4 separate regions of the Homo sapiens genome follow, and regions 2, 3 and 4 are each linked to region 1. The links are contacts of gene promoters, found by promoter capture Hi-C in blood cells and fetal thymus (Javierre and others, 2016). All regions are on one chromosome and are shown on one strand. Each heading gives the region's core, a stretch centred on a gene start or on the middle of the fragment in contact. The rest is flanking DNA. Distances are from core to core; before and after follow the strand shown. Region 1 holds the start of XRRA1 (X-ray radiation resistance associated 1). Region 2 holds the start of RPS3 (ribosomal protein S3). Region 3 overlaps ARRB1 (arrestin beta 1). Region 4 holds the start of TPBGL-AS1 (TPBGL antisense RNA 1).

The links. Contacts are between HindIII fragments. The CHiCAGO score rates a contact against its expected background, and 5 or more counts as called.
Region 2: a contact is called between the fragment with the promoter of RPS3 here and the fragment with the promoter of XRRA1 in region 1, in 6 of 17 cell types (naive CD4 T cells, fetal thymus, total CD8 T cells and 3 more). The highest score is 7.8, in naive CD4 T cells.
Region 3: a contact is called between a fragment that was not itself captured here and the fragment with the promoter of XRRA1 in region 1, in 2 of 17 cell types (naive CD4 T cells and naive CD8 T cells). The highest score is 5.9, in naive CD4 T cells.
Region 4: a fragment that was not itself captured here is called in contact with the fragment with the promoter of XRRA1 in region 1 in 2 of 17 cell types (M1 macrophages and erythroblasts); the score reaches 5.8 in M1 macrophages.

What each region holds. Positions count from the first base shown.
Region 1 is chr11:74,947,057-74,951,852 of GRCh38, forward strand. XRRA1 (X-ray radiation resistance associated 1) reads right to left here and starts at 2,035. Exons shown (of 19, transcript NM_001378157.1): 1 at 1,872-2,035. SPCS2 (signal peptidase complex subunit 2) reads left to right here and starts at 2,210. Exons shown (of 5, transcript NM_014752.3): 1 at 2,210-2,343. The coding sequence starts at 2,230. RefSeq lists enhancers at 1,403-2,257, 1,755-1,804, 1,925-1,984, 2,115-2,334, 2,258-3,112 and 1 more. The HindIII fragment of the contact is 7,778 bases long and covers 1-3,574 here.
Region 2 is chr11:75,396,728-75,401,523 of GRCh38, forward strand. RPS3 (ribosomal protein S3) reads left to right here and starts at 2,791. Exons shown (of 7, transcript NM_001005.5): 1 at 2,791-2,850; 2 at 3,967-4,097. The coding sequence starts at 2,821. SNORD15A (small nucleolar RNA, C/D box 15A) reads left to right here and starts at 3,664; the gene lies at 3,664-3,811. RefSeq lists enhancers at 2,768-3,127, 3,354-4,217. The HindIII fragment of the contact is 4,256 bases long and covers 1,266-4,796 here.
Region 3 is chr11:75,274,480-75,279,275 of GRCh38, forward strand. ARRB1 (arrestin beta 1) reads right to left here. Exons shown (of 16, transcript NM_004041.5): 8 at 4,130-4,265; 9 at 2,885-2,969; 10 at 2,360-2,432. Among named protein-coding and RNA genes, the nearest start is that of TPBGL, 36 kb to the left of the region's middle. RefSeq lists an enhancer at 3,399-3,899. The HindIII fragment of the contact is 1,188 bases long and covers 1,548-2,735 here.
Region 4 is chr11:75,224,288-75,229,083 of GRCh38, forward strand. It overlaps TPBGL-AS1 (TPBGL antisense RNA 1), which reads right to left and starts at 1,357. Exons shown (of 6, transcript XR_950308.4): 1 at 1,052-1,357; 2 at 745-815. It also overlaps the pseudogene ZDHHC20P3. The HindIII fragment of the contact is 2,886 bases long and covers 859-3,744 here.

The DNA.
Region 1 (4,796 bases), core at 785-3,284:
TGCATCTCACACAGGACCTGGCCTACTGAAGGAAGAGTCTCAATGATTGTTAATTGAACTAACCCAACCCATGAACAAAATGCCACAGGAGCACTTCATGCAGTGGGTGAAGAAAGAAGAAGCAAGTATCAGAAATAGTTTCACAGGGTAGGTGACATTAAAGCTGGATCTTGAAAGATGAGAAGTTGGCCTGGTGTGGTGGTTCATGCCTGTAATCCCAGCACTTTGGGAGGCCGAAGCAGACGGATCACTTGAGGTCATGAGTTCAAGACTAGGCTGTCCAACACGGCGAAATCCTGTCTCTACTAAAAATATAAAAATTAGCCAGGTGTGGTGGCATGTGCCTGTAGTCCCAGCTACAAAGACTACAGCTTGGGAGGCTGAGGCACAAGAACTGCTTGAACCCAGGAGGCAGAGGTTGCAGTGAGCCAAGATCCCACCACTGCACTCCAGCCTGGGTGACAGAGTGAGACTCTGTCTCAAAAAATAAAAAATAAAATAAAAAGTGACTAGGGCAATGCTGTATCATCTCACTTTATTTTAAATAAAAGAAAAATGAGAAGTTGTAAAAGATAAACTGCAACAACAAGCTACAGGGGATCTGACTAGTGTCCACGGATTGCTTCACAGAGGTAATGAAATATCATCTGATGTTATTGCTATTTAGTGATATTTATTTTCTTTTTAGTAATAATTTAGTTATTTAGTGATAATTATTTTCTTTTCTTTCTGATCTCGGCTCACTGCAACCTCCGCCTCCCCGGTTCAAGCAATTCTCCTGCCTCAGCCTCCCAAGTAGCTGGGATTACAGGTGCCCGCTACCACGCCCGGCTCATTTTTGTATTTTTAGTAGAGACGGGGTTTCACCATGTTGGCCAGGCTGGTCTTTAACTCCTGACCTCAGGTGATCCGCCTGCCTTGGCGGGGATTACAACCATGAGCCCCCACGCCCGGCCGAGATAATTATTTTCACATGAATTTTGGCTTCCCCAAGACAAGTTTTTGTCTGTTTTATTCAGGGATATATCCCTGGTGACTAGAATAGTGCCTGTTACATAGTAAGAAACTCAAAAATATTTGTTTAATTCTTTAGACGCTTATGGGGGATATATAGGAATTAAAAAACAATACAACGTAATAGAGCATGGTATAATACAATACTGCTATTTGATAACTCTGTCATGGAGTAGTAGTTCCACCAGAGTAGCAACCAGGTCTATCTTGATCCCCTGTATCCGTTAGTACAATATTGGTGCTCAATATACATTTGTGAAAAAAATTAATTAAAATACAACGTAATAGAGCATGGTATAATACAATACTGCTATTTGATAACTCTGTCATGGAGTAGTAGTCCACCAGAGTAGCAACCAGGTCTATCTTGATCCCCTGTATCCGTTAGTACAATATTGGTGCTCAATATACATTTGTGAAAAAAATAATTAAAATCTAGAATACTATTACATCCTAAAACCGTAAAAGCAGAGTGTCAGAAGGGATATATATTGGTTTTGATTTTTTTTAAATGCCGGCTTGAAAACCGAGTTCAGATACATGCTATCTGGCTTTGGGTAGGTTCTTTAGTTTCCTCCTCATCTAACAGGGCTGTTGTGGGACTCAGTGAGAGAGAGGATGGCTGGAAGTGCACATAGGATACTGCCTGGCAGACTGTAGGCACTCAGTAAACGCGAGTTCTCCGTTAACACGAAAACATTACAAACAGCTAAAATGACAGCTGCTTGAGAGAATAATCGGTAAGTGCCACAACCGGGCTAGAAAAGGATGAAGGACAAGCTCCTGCCCACTCCTTTGGAAACTCCACACCTGGGCCGGAGAAAGACTCGAATTCGAAAACTAAGTTTCAGTCGCACCTGCCTCCGGCGTCGCTTCAGCCTCCGAGGGGTCTGCGGAGGCGACGTCCCAGTCAGGAGGGATGCGCGCCTGCGAGCCCCCCGGGGATCTCGGAGCCGCTCCACTGCGGTGCCTGCCGCTATCTTCCCCACGCCTTAGTAACTGCGACGCGACGGCAGACAGTGTAGGCGGCAACCGACGGCCGGGACGTCTAACCTCAAGTCCCAGCAAGCCCCGCGGCCACGTCCTCTGACTACCTCGCGCCAGCAAGACCCAAACTACGGATCCCGATTGACTCCGCGCGGCGCGTCACGCTGTCAGCTCCAGCCAATCGGCTTCAGACAAGTCGGAGGGGAGGGAGACGCAGAGGCGGACAAGATGGCGGCGGCAGCTGTACAGGGCGGGAGAAGCGGTGGTAGCGGAGGCTGTAGTGGGGCTGGTGGTGCTTCCAACTGCGGGACAGGAAGTGGCCGTAGCGGCTTGTTGGATAAGGTGAGGAGCCGGTTCTTGGGAACAGTTGAATCCTGGGGAGGCCTGGGAGGCGGCGAGCCAACCTTCCCATCCCGGTCTCCCTTATTTTCTACGGCCTTTTGAGGGGAGCCCTTGTGTGACCACTATCACAACCCTACGCACGCTTGGAGCCTGCCCTTGCCCTCATCACACTTCAAACCTGGACCCGGTCCTCTTTAGAACTTCTTCTTTTCTCGCAAGTGTTCTGGTCCTGGTCGCCACACCTTTTTCGGTAATTTGATTTTTCCTATATTTAATCGTGTCCATCTCTTTTCTCCTGGGGGGCTGGGTGCACTGTTGTCAGTGCCCATTTCACAGACACGGAAAACCGAAGCCCAAAGATTAAAGAATCAGTATCCCCCAAACTCTCTACCACCATCACCCTTGCGTGCTGCTACAGATTCCAAAGTGCTTCTTGTCCTTTTGCTTACTGAAGTTTTTAGGCGTTTTATCATGATAGGCGAATACTGAAAATATTTGAGTATTGACTGTTCTACTGGGCTGACAAGAAGCCTTTAAGATTTTTCTTTTTTTCCTGTTGTTTTTCCCCGCCCTCTCCTCTCTTCCCTCCACCTCCCTCTTTGCTACCAAGTGCACTGCTGCCCGCTCACGCTTGCCCCTTTCCTCCCTCTGCTCATCCAAAAAAATTTTTTTTAACTGCAGTCCTAGCAACAAGGGTTTAAAAGAAAAGAAAAAAAGGAAAACTGTCCCTGGGTTGGCCTTTCTTGCTCTTTGCACAGCATCTTGGAAGAAACAGTTGCACGGAGAACAACGTCCTGGTGTTGATTTTGCCTCTAATTAGCTTTGTGACCTTGAAATATGCTTGCTCTCTCTATATCTGTTTTCTCATCTGCAAAGTGAGAGATTTAGCCTTAAAATGAGGGACTTAACTCTAAATTCCCTTCCAGTTCTCTCATTGTAGGGCCCTGGGCTGGTTTGATGAGAATTGTTAAGCATGGTGTCTTTAATATAGTAAGCAGAATTTTTGAATATAATTGAAAACAGCTTTCAGACTTCCCTGTGCATAACACATGGTAGGTGCTTAAGAAATGAAAACATGATTATGTTGAGGGGTTAAGATCCAGGTCTTTTTACTTGTCTTTTTGAGTGTCATTGGTTTTGAAAGACATGGTTCTCACACTCTTCTCTTGTGAGAGGGGTCACGCTCCATTGCCCAGAATGGATCTTAGCTCACTGCGGCCTTGAACTCTTAAGCTTAGGTGATCTTCCCACCCCAGCTTCCTGAGTAGCTGGGACTGCAAATGTGCACCACTATGCCTGACTAATTTTTTTGCTTTTAACTTTTCTGTAGAGTCAGGGTCTTACTGTGTTGCCCTGGCTGGTCTCAAATTCCTGGGCCTCAAGAGATCCTCCCACCTTGGCTCCCCAAAGTGCTGGGATTACAGGCATAAGTCACCATGCACCTGGCCTCACACTCAAACCTTAAGATACAGAAACATATTCTGGAGGTTGGGATGGTAAATTGCTTCAAGACATGTGAGAGTATGGGGAATTGATGGTCATTTGTGTACACAAATCCTTCCCTCTTGCTAGGTAAGCACCTCATAGCCTGTGCTTACCTGCCCCACTAACTGCTCTTGCTCTTCCTTGCACTTGGATCATCATCAGCAAACATTAAGTATGGGCATTCTGCTAAGGCAGTATAGAATACTATTATTATGGAATAGTGTATATGGCACCATTGTGTTATTGAAAGAACCCGGATGTGGGGATCATAAGATTTCAGCTTTGAAGTATTTCTGCTACTTGCTAACAGTATGAAGATTGGCAAGTCACTTAACCTTTCTTCATTTGGAATTTTGGAATCTCTGGCACCTAGATCACAGGGTTTTGGGAAGAACCAAGTAAGACAGTACACATTAATGATCTCCATTACCTGTAGTGTCCAGTACAGATGTGTGATGGTGGAGGAGTAAATCAAGAATCCTACTGTCAGAGAGCACTCAGAATAGCCAAATATAGGAGATGGGGTAATTGAATCTATTTAAGGAAGTATATGGTATATTCGCTCAAGTGTGTACTTGTTACGGAAGTTCAAATGAGAGAAATAGAGTGAACCCTGCGAGCTTATTGATAAGAGTAAGAGCCTCGGCCGGGCGCAGTGGCTCACACCTGTAAACCCAGCACTTTGAGAGGCCAAGGCAGGCGGATCACCTGAGGTCGGAAGTTCAAGACCAGCCAGACCAAGATGGAGAAACCCCATCTCTACTAAAAATACAAAATTAGCGAAGTGTGGTGGTGCATGCCTGTAATCCCACCTACTCGGGAGGCTGAGGCAGGAGAATCGCTTGAACCCGGGAGGTGGAGGTTGCAGTGAGCCGAGATCACGCCATTGCAGTCCAGCCTGGGCAACAAGAGGGAAACTCTGTCTCAAAAAAAAAAAAAAAAAAAGAGTAAGAGCCTGAAGGAAAGGC
Region 2 (4,796 bases), core at 1,541-4,040, 450 kb after region 1:
CTGCACTCTAGCCTGGACAACAAAGGGAAACTTTGTCTCAAAAAAAAAAAAAAAGATAGATCCACAGCTACCATCTCTTTGGTTCTTTGGTTCATCCACTTCTTTTCCTTTCTTTTCTTTTTTTTTCTTTGAGACGGGGTCTCGCTCTGTCACCCAGACTGGAGGGCAGTGGCTTTGACCATGGCTTACTGCAATTCCACCTCTCGGGTTCAAGTGACTCTCATGCCTCAGCCTCCCAAGTAGCTGGGATTACAGGCGTGCACCACCACACTAGGCTAATTTTTGTATTTTTAGTAGAGATGGGGTTTCACTATGCTGGCCAGGCTGGTCTCAAACTCACGACCTCAGGTGATCCACCTGCCTCGGCCTCCCAAAGTGCTGGGATTACAGGCATGAGCCACCGCGCCCATCCACTTTTTGTCATCTTCCCTGGTCCCTCTGCTCAGCAACCACAGAACTCTGTTAATTCCGTGATTATAGGACAGGTCACTTTACATCAGAGTTGTTTTAGAGCTGGAGTTAAACACTCCAATGGCTTCTAGGACCAGAAAATAACTGAGTGGTGCTGCCAGGGAGTGTGGCACCTTGGAAAGACTCTTTTTGTGTAACAGGAAAGGAGAGCACTGCCCATGAAGAAATGTGGGTTCACTATTTTGCTAGATATTTCTATATCCTTAAGAAAAACCTAAAATAGTTTTAGAGAGAAATACCCTGACTTTTAAATGAAGAAAACTATTCAAACTTAAAATAAAACTGTTGGCTGGGTGCGGTGGCTCACGCCTGTAATCCCAGCACTTTTGGAGGCCGAGGTGGGCGGATCACAAGGTTAGGAGTTCAAGACAAGCCTGGCCAACATAGTGAAACCCTATCTCTACTAAAAATATGAAAATTAGCTGGACATGGCGGTGCTTGCCTGTAGTCCCAGCTACTCAGGAGGCTGAGGCAGGAGAATCGCTTGAACCCGGGAGGTGGAGGTTACGGTGAGCGGCGATCGCACCACTGCACTCCAGCTTAGGCAACAGAGTAAGACTTCGTCTCAAAAATAAATAAATAAATAAAATAAAACTGTTATTGAAGTGTTTAGGGGTAAAGTTTACCAATGTCTGCAACTTACTTTGAAATGCCTCAAAAGATGTATTGGTGGGTGGCTACAGGGATGAGTAGATCCACGATAAAGCAACAGCAAAATATTAATTGTAGCATCATTCTCAATTCCCCCTCAGCTTGGTGATGCATACACGTACAGTTTTTTCAACTGTTCTGTAAGCTTCATTAAAAAATGAAGGGACATTTTTAATTTTTTATTTTTTTTAGACTGAGTCTCACTCTGTTGCCCGGGCTGAGTGCAGTGGCACAATCACGGCTCACTGCAGCCTAGACCTCCTGTACTCAAGCAATCCTCTCACATCTCCCTCCAGAGTAGCTGGGACTACAGGCACACACCACCACACCTGGATAATTTTCTTTTTTCACTTTTCATAGAGATGAGGGTGTCTCATTCTGTTGCCCAGACTGGTCTCAAACTTCTGGCCTCAAGCTATCCACTTGCCTTGGCCTCCCAAAGTGCTAAGATTACAGGCCTGAGCCACTGCACCTGGCTAGAATTTTTTTTAATTGAAAAAGAAGGCCAGGCACGGTGGCTCATGCCTGTAATCCCAGCACTCTGGGAGGCTAAGGCAGGTGGATCACTTGAGGTCAGGAGTTCAAGACCAGCCTGGCCAACATAGTGAAACTTCATCTCTACTAAAAATACAAAAATTAGCTGGGTGTGGTGGTGTGCACCTGTAATCCCAGCTACTCAGGAGGCCAAGGCAGAAGAATCACTTGAACCTGGGAAGTGGAGGTTGCAGGGAGCTGAGATCGTACTACTGCACTCCAGCTTGGGCAACCGGAGAGAAAAGAAAGAAAGGAGAGAAAGAGAGAGAGAAAGAGAGAGGAAGGAAGGAAGGAAGGAAGGAAGGGCGGGCCCATGGGACCTTCTGGGACTTCTGTTACAAATTGTAATGGACTTGATGAAAGTAAGGTGGGGTAAATGAGAACAACATAAAGGACACAGAACGCAGTCCCTAGGACACTTAGTAAGTATCAGGTTTTATTATTATCATTTGGAATGGAGGAAATGGGTACAGACTGGGGGACATGAGTTGTTTTGTTTGTTTGTTTGTTTGTTTGTTTGAGACAGAGTCTCACTCTGTGGTCCAGGCTAGAGTGCAGTGGTAGGATCTTGGCCCACTGCAACCTCCATCTCCCAGGTCCAAGCAATCCTCCCACCTCAGCCTCCCGAGTAGCTGGGATTACAGGTGCCCGACACCACTCCCAGCTAATTTTTCTATTTTTAGTAGAGACGGGGTTTCACCATGTTCGCCAGGCTAATCTCGAACTCCTGACCTCAAGTAATCCGCCCGCCTTGGCCTCCCAAAGAGGAGTCTTAAATGAGTTTCACTGAGGGATTTCAGCAGATTTTCATTACAGTGTCCACCCTGAAAGTGTAGGGGCCAGAGTTCCACGCTGGTTAATCTCTCTTGCTGTGTGAACTTATACCTGTAATTTCCACCTCTGCACCTCACATTGCTTGTTTTGAAACTATGAGAATTGAACTCTAAGGTCCCCTGAAGTTTAGAAGTCCTGCTGGATGAAGCCCCTTTCCTGTTCCTGCCTACATTCTTCTTTCCCTGGACGCCTTACTTACGTAAAAACTACATTTCCCATGAGCACCCACAGGCGTGCACGCAGCGCAGCCCTCCGTCGTCGCTCGCGCCCTTTATACTCACTTCCGCCCGCGAGCCACTTCCTTTCCTTTCAGCGGAGCGCGGCGGCAAGATGGCAGTGCAAATATCCAAGAAGAGGAAGGTGAGCCTCTGGGGACTGGGTTCGGAGAACGACGGCGCCGCGCGGGTCGAGGGCTTCTCGGGGTGCCACCGCGAGGCCTGCAGCTCCGTGGCCTGCCCTGGAAGCGGCCTAGGCTTCCTGGCGTTCCTGCGGGCCGCGGATGGCGGTGGATTGAGTGAGAGGCCCCAGCCAGGAGGGCGCTGTGTGGCCGGGTTCCAAGTGAAGCGCAGAGAGATGGGCACCAGGCGCCCCTTCTGTCCCGGAGAAGGCGTTTGTGAGCATTTGTCGGTCAACGGAATTAGTAAACGTGGTATTTTGAGGGCGTGTGTCATTTCCCTCATGTCTTATCCCGTGGTTTTGGGAAGAGAAGGCAGCAGTGTATTCTTGCCTTAACTGGTCGTTTCTGGGTACAGTCCGCTGGCCCCAGGACCTCAACTTGAAGGGTTGCTGACGGTTGCTTGCTCCGTCTGGGGACCCCGGGAGGAAGCTGCCTCGGATTTAACGCCTTGTCATTACATGGGATAGAACTGTGTAAAAATCATTAGCTTTAAAAATAGACAGTTTGTCATTTCGTATATACACTTCGATGTCAAAATTAAATCCACAACTTCTCGAGAGTTAGGATTTGCCAGCTCTGTTGGTACCGTAAAGCCAAATAACATGGCTGGGATTCTTTAGACGGTGCAGGTTGTGTCTACAAGTGAGAGAGCTTATATGTTAAGTCTACTATCTATTCCTTAACAGTGACAAGTACAGTGTCTTTGCTGTGCTGAATGAAGTGTAAATAGGCCATTAGAGCAGTTTCTTGTTTTGCATGTGGAACTGTTTTAAACCCTTCGATGAAGAGATGATGACGAGTCTGACTTGGGGATGTTCTCTTTGCCCAGGTGGCCTACTCTGTGCTGCGTTCTGTGGCACAGTTTAAAGAGCCCTGGTTGAAGTAATTTCCTAAAGATGACTTAGAGGCATTTGTCTGAGAAGGGTTGCTGCACTCCTGTTGGAACAAGGGTTTGGAACCATTGGTTGGAGGTATTTAGTTTTGGTGAGGGATGCATTGACTAATAAGACTAGACTGGCTCAGGCGAAAGTGAGCCTACACCGATCTCCTAATTTTGAACTTTGCTTTGTTTGGATTAGTTTGTCGCTGATGGCATCTTCAAAGCTGAACTGAATGAGTTTCTTACTCGGGAGCTGGCTGAAGATGGCTACTCTGGAGTTGAGGTGCGAGTTACACCAACCAGGACAGAAATCATTATCTTAGCCACCAGGTAAAACTCATTTGACTGGCCATCACCTATAATTGTTATAAATGCTAAGTTGGTTTATTTATTTATTTATTTTTTTGAGACGGAGTCTTGCTCTGTCCCCAAAGCTGGAGTGCAGTGGCGCGATCTCGGCTCACTGCAAGCTCCGCCTCCCGGGTTCACGCCATTCTCCTGCGTCAGCCTCCCGAGTAGCTGGGACTATAGGCGCCCGCCACCATACCTTGCTAATTTTTTGTGTTTTTAGTAGAGTTGGGGTTTCACCGTGTTAGCCAGGACGGTCTGGATCTCCTGACCTCGTGATCCGCCTGCCTCAGCCTCCCAAAGTGCTGGGATTACAGGCGTGAGCCACCGCGCCCGGCAGGTTTATCCTTTATGAACTTAAGGGGACAGACGGAACAGTGAATCTGGGCTTAGTGAATGTAATTGCTTCTTAAAAGCTAGATTTTAAGGCCAGGCGTAGGATCACTTAAGCTCAGGAATTCAAGATCAGCCGGGGCAACATGGGGAAACCCCCGCTCTACAAAAAATAAAAAAGGGTGTGGTGGTGCATGCATGTGGTCCCACCTATTCCAGAGGCTGAAGCAGGCGATGGCTTGAGCTCAAGAGGTTCAGGCTGCAGTGAGCCATTGGTGTGATCCAGCCTGGGTGACAGAGTGAGACCCTGTCTCAAAAAAAAAAGCTGCGTTTTAAAAATTTTAGTTT
Region 3 (4,796 bases), core at 892-3,391, 330 kb after region 1:
AAAAGCACATTTATTTAAAGAATTACAGCCAGCCGGGTGCAGTGGCTCACGCCTGTAATCCCAGCATTTTGGGAGGCCGAGGCGGGTAGATCACGAGGTCAGGAGTTGGAGACCATCCTGGCTAACAAGGTGAAACCCCGTCTCTACTAAAAATACAAAAAAATTAGCCGGGCATGGTGGTGGACGCCTGTAGTTCCAGCTACTCAGGAGGCTGAGCCAGGAGAATGGCATGAACCTGGGAGGTGGAGCTTACAGTGAGCCGAGATTGCTCCACTGCACTCCAGCCTGGGTGACAGAGCAAGACTCCATCTCAAAAAAAAAAAAAAAAAAAGTACAGCCACAGCAGGCACAGTTGCTCATGCCTGTAATCCCAGCAACTTGAGAGGCTGACAGGAGGATTGCTTGAGGCTAGGAGTTTGAGACCAGCCTGGGCAACATAGCAAGACCCCATCGCTACAAAAAATTTTAAACATTAGCCTGATATGGTGGTGCACACCTGTAGTCCTAGCTACTTGGGAGGCTGAGGCAGGAGGATCACTTGAGCCCAGGAGTTCGAGGCTGGCTGTAGTGAGCCATGATCATACCACTGCACTCCAGCCTGGGCAACAGAGTGAAACTCTGTCTCTAAACAAATTTAATTTAAATTTATTTTATTTTATTTTATTTTATTTTATTTTATTTTTTTGAGACAGAGTCTTGCTCTGTCGCCCAGGCTAGAGTACAGTAGTGCGATCCTGGCTCACTGGAACCTCCACCTCCCAGGTTGAAGCAGTTCTCCTACCTCAGCCTCCCAAGTAGCTGGGATCACAGGGGCGCGCCACCATGCCCGACTAATTTTTGTATTTTTAGTAGAGATGAGGTTTTGCCATGTTGGCCAGGATGGTCTCAAACTCCTGACCTCAAGTGATCTGCCTGCCTCAGCCTCCCCAAGTGCTGGGATTATAGGCGTGAGCACCAGCCCTGTCTCTAAACACATTTTAAAAAGAAAAAATTATAGCTACACATAAACCATAAATGAAGCTATTTGGGCACCCATATACCCACCATCTAGGCTCAACAATTAAAACTTTACTTGCTTGATCACATCCATCATATATAGGGTGTTTTGATTGTCCAATTTTTACTTGCTTTTGCTCTATCCCCCATCCTTTCCAATGAGAGAGCTGTCATGCAGCAGATAGTGAACAAGCCTTGGAGTCGGACGACCGTGTTCCAGCCCCAGCTTTGCTGCTTGCTAACTTGCAAGTCACATCTCTCTGAGCCACTTCCTCCTCTACATACTGGGGCAGCAGCAACCCCAGCCCCACAGCGCTTCCTGAGAAGTAAACAAGTCTGTGAGTGCAAATGCCTCCCCAGCCATCCCTGCTGGTATTCGTTATGCAGACGCTGGCACCATCTGCAGTGGTTGGGATTTTCTACTCTTTAGGGATTATATGTTACTCTGGTTCTAGATCACTTCACTTTACCATCAGGAATCTATGCCTCATAGCTCTGATTTTTTTGAAAAAATCAACAGTGGATATGAAAAATATCCAGTAACCAGAGAAAGCTTGATCTAATCATAGCATGTTCACCTATAGGACATTAAAAACTATTTCAAAGGCCATGTAGTAACATTTTAAAAATATTTTCAGTTGCAAGAAATACTGATTGGAATTATACATAAACAAATACACATATACATGTAAAATTATATCAGGTATAATTGCCCCAAGAAATTACTTGCAGGGCCAGGAAAAAAAAATGTGTATGTCTTTGAATGGGAGCATTTACTTCCTTTAGGTAAGTAAAGATGTTTCACTTCAGATCTCTCCACTTGCCTTAGCTGCCAACAAGCCTGGGACAAAGTTCGATCCATGCTCAACCATAGCAGTTCTCCTCAAACCTAGATGATTTTTTTGTGTGTAATTATTCTCTGCACTCCCACACACAACCCCTTTTTCCCAATGAGTTGGATTACCCCTTTATCAGACAAGAGCTGTGTACCTAGTGCCTTACCCACTTTGCCCTGGCTACCAGGAAGCCAAGAACAAAGTATTTCCCTTCAACCTAGGTTTCTTGTACAACGTAATTATTTCTTCTCACAACCCCAATCCCCTTACATTCATTAGCTATTGTTTTGTCACTCTAGTTTTAGTGGGTCTCTTCCTTGACTGTAGCATGCATTTTCTTGAAGCTAAATCAGGTGGATGGTTTCTAAAAGGCTCTTCGGGATCATCTACTCTGAGTGGCAAGGAAGTCTGAGGCCCAGCCCTCTGCCAGGTGGAGAAGAGCCACCTGGACCTGTAACAGGACACCTAGAGCTTCTCTTTTTCCCACCCAATCCCATACGCCCAAGGCCAGACTTGTGCCCACTTACTCAGCCTCTTCCATGGCAACAGGGCACTTGTACTGAGCTGTGTTGAAAAGGCAGATGTCTGCATACTGGCGCACTAGGGAGGGAGAGGAATCAAGGTGGAGTGAGTCGGGAATGTAGCTCCCATGGAGTCTCACAGGCGTCCCCGGGTTGGGGATATTCAGCCCCAGGCAATGGCCAGAGGCCACCAGTGGGGACTTCTGCATAAGACCACCCCTGTCTTACATCCAAAGGGTAGCCCCAAACACACCCATTTCCTTCCATAACCAAAGCCTTCCCCTCAAGGACAGCTTTGTCCAGAACCCAAGAAACTGAAGAGGTGGCTTAAAGAGCAAACTCATTACCTAGCCAATAAGCAGCCTGCCTTACCCAACTCAAAAGCTTTGCCCTGTGGCTCAGAGCAGGCCCTGGGCTTCAGTGGCTATTTTTTATACAAGGCTGTTAACAAGGGGAGATACTTCAGCCACCCCCAGCCCTTGGGAAGATTGCCTCTCGCTGTCCCCTAAGCTGACCCTCTGTCTGGGATACCTGAGATCTTGATCTTCTTCACCGTCTTGTTGGTGTTGTTGGTGACGTGGACGTTGACGCTGATGGGTTCTCCATGGTAATAGATCTGGGGGGCATAAGAAGGGACGGGGTTGGCTGGGAGGACAGCAAGGTTCTAGGGAAAGGGGAGGGAGAAAAGCCCCCACGCGATCTTCTGGGGTTCCCCAGACCTTGCGCAGACCTTCAGAAGGGTCTGCTGCTCCCATCTGAAGTCCATCACATCCCTCAGGTTCATGCCCCCTCTGCCACTCCTTTAGGCCCAAGAGGCTTCTCCGAATCCCCCAAGGCATTGTGACATTTGCCCCAAGTTCATCAGCCACTTCCCACTGCTGCTAAGGTGGCATGAAAGCCACCAAGCACATTAGCCTTCAGTTCCCTGGTGGGACCCTTGAAAGATAACGGAATTGGAAGGTGATAGTCCTGGGCTCCAGCCCTGGCTTGGCCAGCAGTAATTGTGACAACAATAACAACAATAACATTGACGATGATGAAAGCAGTGTGACCGTGGGTAGGTTATCTAAGCCTCAGGGTCTCCCTCTGTGCAACGAAGGGGTTGGACTAGGTGATGTCTGAAGTCCCTGCCAGCTCTAAATTCTGTCCACAGAAGGATCTGGAAGAAGCAGGGAAAGGTGAGGATGGGCTCACCAGCTCACTGAGGGAGCCAGCTCTGAATCCCTACAAAAAGACCTCAACTTGCATCTTGCCCCAAGGCACTTCCCTTCAGCCATGCCCCGAGAGAGAGGGGGTGCCCACACCTTGAGGAGGGGCCAGCCTAAGCTCACAGCAGTCAGCTGGGTTTGATTCAGAGTTTGAGGGGAGGCCCTTCCTTCTGCAGGGCTTGTCGCCCTGACGCTCAGTGTTTGGCAGGAAGGTCACGGCCCCCCACCGTGCCCCCTCTGCAATGCTGGTTGACCTTCAGCACTCGGCCTGAGGCAGGCAGCTGGTGGAGGTGTGGGGGAGATGTCCAGGACCTTCAGGAAGGTCTGCTCCTCACTTCGGAAGTCCATCACATCTCTCAAGTTCATGCCCCCTTTGCCACTCCTTTAGGCCCAAGAGGCTTCTCCAAATCCCCCATGAGAGGTCTCAGATTCCCTGACCCCTGTGGTCCTTGGGCTGGGGATAGAAGCTCCTACCTGAGGCATCCTTGCAGGCCAGGAGAGAGCTGGGATCTGAGGCCCAGGCCCTGGTGGAGCAGCCCCCACCCCCTGCCAAGTCCGAGCCTCCTACCTCCTTATCCAGAGAGGCTTCTAGGTGCAAGGGCTTGTCCGACATGAGGAACTGCCTGGTGGTCTCGGCTGTGGGCTGGGGGCCAGGCCTCTCTGGGGCATACTGAACCTTCCGGATGACCAGACGCACAGAATTCCTAATGGAGATGGGCGGAGTGAAAGAGGACCAGGGTCACCTGCCTTCATCCCCTCTCCTTGCGAGCCTCACATCATTCTCCTGCTCAAGAGACTGGCATGGCTCTCCATCACCTTAGAATCCAGCCAAACTGCAGAGATCAGCATAGGGGTCTGTCACCATCTGGCTCCATTCCATCCTCCCCTGTTCTGTCCCAGAAGTGCCCTGTGGCTGCACTTCATTTGGTCCTGGTACCCAGCAGGATGCTGAAACAGGGACTACATTTTTCACCTCCTGCTTCCCTATGTCACCAAATAGGTAACATTGTCACTTCCTGACTCCCTATGTCACCATACACAAATAGTGTCCCTCTGTCATCTATTTTGGTGACATAGGACACTATTTGTGTAAGTTCTTTAAGGACAGAAATTTGTGTCTAAGGTGTTCACAGCTGTACTCTCAGCACCTATGACTGTGCCTGCCATATAATAAACAACTGCCAGATATCTATTATGTAAAACTATGCAGAGGGGACAGCGGTCTCAAGAAGAAA
Region 4 (4,796 bases), core at 1,052-3,551, 280 kb after region 1:
CTCAGATCCTGGAAAAGACTCCAGAGGACACCTGCTGGATGGAGGGCTCTCTCTCACCCTCTGTCTGTAGAGCCCTGGCTCTCATGCCTTCTGGGACAGGAAGCTCATTTCCCTCTCTGGCAGCCCACTCCACTCAAGCTGCTGAAATGCCTCTCTGAGCCACAGCCTGTGCTGGGCTCTGGGGAAGCAGGGATGAATGTGGTCCCTGCCCTCAGGAGCTCGCCATCTGGGGGCAGGCAGGGGGCAGGTGGCAGAAACTGACAACACACCCCCACAGGGAAGCAGAGGGAGCTGAAGGGGGCCCTAAGCTAGCCTTGCAGTGGGGTAGGCATCAGGAATGGCTTCCCAGAGCAGGTAGGGGACTGAAGAGGGCCTTGAATATACAGGTATGGTGGGTCTGTAGTTTCAATTATCCTCTAAGTGCTGGCAAATCCCAGCTGTGCACCCCCAGTCCTGACATGGCTCCTGAATTCTAGGCGTCAATATCCCACTGCCCAGTCAATGTCTCCACTTGGATGTCTTGGCATCCCTAACTCATCAGGACCAAGGCTAAGTTCACCCTCTCTGCCCACCTCACACCTGGTCTTCCCTCTGTCAGTTCTACCATCCACAGGCCAGAAACCCTGGGCCCATCCCTCCCCTTCACCCCGTATCCAGTCTGTCACCAGGCCCTGAGTATCTCAAACCCACCCACCACTCCCCACCTCCTCACCACCACCCAGCCCAAGCACCATTGCCTTTCACCTGTACTTCTCCAAGCGTCTCCTCATTTATCTTCTCATACTTGGCTCTTTCAATCATGTGGTGAGAGTGATCTTTACAAAATACAAATAAAATTATGTCACATTTCTACTTAAAAGCTTTCAATGGCTTCTCTTTGCCTTTGAAACAAAGGTTAAAATCTTCAAGGCCTGCAAGGCCCAGCATGGCCTGGCCTTCGCTGACAGCGCCAGTAGTATCTCAACAACCCCCTCCCTTGTCTCCTGACCTCCCGCCTCCAGCCCACCTGGCCTCATTGCCCACCTTAGAAACTTCTGTATGTGTTACTCACATTGTCTTTCCTGTGGGCACAAAAACCTGGGATGTCCTCTTTTTCTCTCCCAAATGACTCCCAGGACATCTGTTTATGTGCTCACTGACCCTGAACACCAGTCTCTAGCCCTTCTCTCCTGAAGGATCAGCTGCAGGACACAGTGGGGGGTTACAAAGTAACCGGCCTGTCTGGAGCTAAGGTCCCAGAACCTCCCAGTGTCCACAGAGGCGTGTCCCTGCCTGGCTCTCAGATGCCTTCCAGAGCTCCCACTCCCCTCCTGCTCTCTCTGTCTCCCTGTCTGGTGTTTGTTTGTTTGAGACAGAGTCTTGTTCTGTCGCCCAGGCTGGACTGCAGTGGCATGATCTCGGCTCACTGCAATCTCTGCCTCCCGGATTCAAGTGATTCTTGTGCGTCAGCCTCCCAAGTAGCTGGATTACAGGCACTCATGCCCAGCTAATTTTTGTATTTTTAGTGGAGATGGGGTTTCACCGTGTTGGCCAGGCTGGTCATGAACTCCTGATCTCAAGTGATCCACCCACCTTGGCTTCCCAAAGTGCTGGGATTACAGGCATGAGCCACCATGCCCCACCCCCTCCTGCTCTCTTCTTCCATTTCTGGTGAAGAGTTGGCAAACCTCCTTCCCTCAGCCCTACCCCTTCCGGGGCCTCAGTGCTCCTCACCACTGAGGGGCAGAGGTGAGGCCCAGCCTGGGTCATCGTGCTGGGACCTACAATCCATGTCCTCCCTGGGCTCCCAGACAAGCCAACCAGCCTCGGGCCTCAGGCCAGGCACTGCCTCTTCTACAGTTTGCTGGAGGGTTCAGGTTTTCTCTGGGCTCCCACAGTATTCTGTATGCCCAGCACTGTCAAATCCACCTGTTCTAGTGTTGGTTGCTCTTCCCCCGACCAGGAGCTCAACTTGCTCAGGGGCTGTGAGTTTTCATCTCTTCACCCCAAGCCTAGCTCAAGGATGGTCCCAGAAGAGAGGCTCAGGAAAGACTTAGCATATGAATTCAGGACTAATATCACATAAATGTGTGGTTTTGTTTTCTTTCCACATAAACTGCTATTAAACTCTGTTTCCTTCATCCTGAACTTTTTATGAAGAATGGACCTAAGAGTCTTATGGGCCTTGGCTTTGATCTGAGCTCCATCTCTTACTATGTGACCTGAGCAAATGCTTAGCTTCTCTGGCTTTCAGTTTCTTCCACTATAAAATGAGAACAGGGTGGAAGGGGTGAAGACTGAAAAACTACCTACTGGGTACAATGTTCACTATTTGGGTAATGGATACACTAGAAGCCCAAACCTCACCATTACACAAAATATCTGTTTAACAAATTGCATGTGTACCTCCTGAATCTATAATTAAAAAAAATAAAATGAGAACAACATCCTCCTAAGGTTTTCACTATTAACTGAGATATCTTATGTTAGGGTACAGCACGAAGTATGTGCTCAATAATTCCTTCTTCTCTCCCTCACCCGAACCTCTGAGCCCCGATGAGGACTTGACATTTACCTCCATGAACGTGAACCTATGGTCATCACCTATGGGCCAAGTTAATGCAGATCATTTTGAAACCCAGTTCTGCCATCTGACATAATCACTCTCCCACCCAGATTTGATAAGCATGCTTTATTTGGCCTAATCCAAGTCCCTGAAAAAATACATCAGACTGAGCAAGATAGCAGGGAGGAACAAGCCCGGAGCAGGGCACTAGTCTTCCCTCTAAGCTGCCATTGATCCACTTACCCGTTCTCCACCACCTGCTGTCCAGGCAGCCAGGGATTCCCCTAGTGTATCACGATTTGATCCCTACTGTAGCTTGCCATGAAAGTACCTTGGGAGGCTGGGCACAGTGGCTCACGCCTGTAATCCCAGCACTTTGGGAGGCCGAGGCAGGAGGATCACCTGAGGTCAGGAGTTCAAGACCAGCCTGGCCATCATAGTGAAACCCTGTATCTACTAAAAATACAAAAATTAGCTGGGTGTGGTGGCAAGCGCCTGTAGTCCCAGCTACTTGGGAGGCTGAGGCAGGAGAATCACTTGAACCCAGGAGTCGGAGGTTGCAGTGACTTGCGATCGCACCATTGCACTCAAGCCTCGGCGACACAGCGAGACTCTGTCTCAAAAAAAAAAAGTACCTTGGGAGATGTTCCAATTGCCTTTTTGAAATCAGGATTCTCAAGACTTCAACAGACCCCTGATCTATTGCAATTTTGGTTCTCCCAAAGCAAGAGAGATGAGAGATTAGCCTGACTTATTTTAAGTAAACCTAGGCTGGGTCCTGGTGATCACTATGTTTTATTCTTCTTTAATTTTTTTTTTCCTAGCTGGGATTTGAACTATATTCTTCTTTTTAAAATGATATATACCATTCCTTTTCTGCTGTCTTTGTTAATGCCGTTAAATTGGAAGAATTTTCAGTGATCAGTGAAAAGTCTCAGTTAGGAATTATTAAATTAACACAGGCTTCTTGCCTACTTGCTGTTGGCTGAAAATAGTTTAAAATACTTAAGTGAAAACTTTTCTCTACCACAGGAAATTTGCTTTCTGAGTGAATGAAGGTTTTCTATAGGAAGATAAATGTTCAACCTTCTCTTCTGACTCATTATAATCGTGGAATGGTAAAATTCAAGTAACTGCTGTTTTGTAATATTGAGTCAAACATTCACTTTAAAAAAATGTAACAATACTGTCTTAATAAAAGCTTAGCTGTATATTCTTAAGACTTAGAAGACTTTGGGAGGCCGAGGCGGGCGGATCACGAGGTCAGGAGATCGAGACCATCCCGGCTAAACGGTGAAACCCCGTCTCTACTAAAAATACAAAAAATTAGCCGGGCGTGGTGGCGGGCGCCTGTAGTCCCAGCTACTTGGGAGGCTGAGGCAGGAGAATGGCGTGAACCCGGGAGGCGGAGCTTGCAGTGAGCCGAGATCCCGCCACTGCACTCCAGCCTGGGCGACAGAGCGAGACTCCGTCTCAAAAAAAAAAAAAAAAAGAAAAGAAAAGAAAAAAGAAAAAAAGACTTAGAAGATAAGCTTGACTGATCATGATTTTCAAAGTTTTATAAGATTACTGAAAATACAAAAAGCCAGTACAAGAGGAAGCATAATGAAATCCAGCAGGAATAATTTGTAATTAGAAAACCCCATGCAATTCTTCAGCCAGGGATAATGGTGATCCATCTTAAAAACACATGTGTCCCATGCTGAGCACTGATGAGCCTAATCAGACACACTCCACTGACATTTTTCACAATACCAAGGGGTCCTTAATTGCTGGGGGGTACAGGCAGGCAAGCTTCTCGCTGCTCCTCTCAGGAGATCATAATGATTAAGAGCAGGCCTGGAGCCAAACAGCCAGGGGAGGCATCCCAGCCCTCCTCCAACTCAACTGTGACTTTAGGCAAGTCACTTACCCTTTCTGTGCCTCAGTTTCCTCATCGTTTTTTTTTGAGACAGGGTCTTGCTCTGTCACCCAGGCTGGAATGCAGTGGTCCAATCGTGGCTTACTGCAGCCTCAACCCCTAGGGCTCAAACGATCCTCCCACCTCAACCTCCTGAGTAGCTGGGACAGCAGGCGTGTGCCACCATGCCCGGCTACCTTTTTTAATTTTTTTGTGGAGACGAGGTCTCCTGAAGTTTCCCAGGCTGGTCTCAAACTCCTGGCCTAAAGTGATCCTCTTGCCTTGGCCTCCCAAAATGTTGGGATTACAGGGGTTAGCCACCGTACCTCATCTTTAAAATTATGGCTGGCC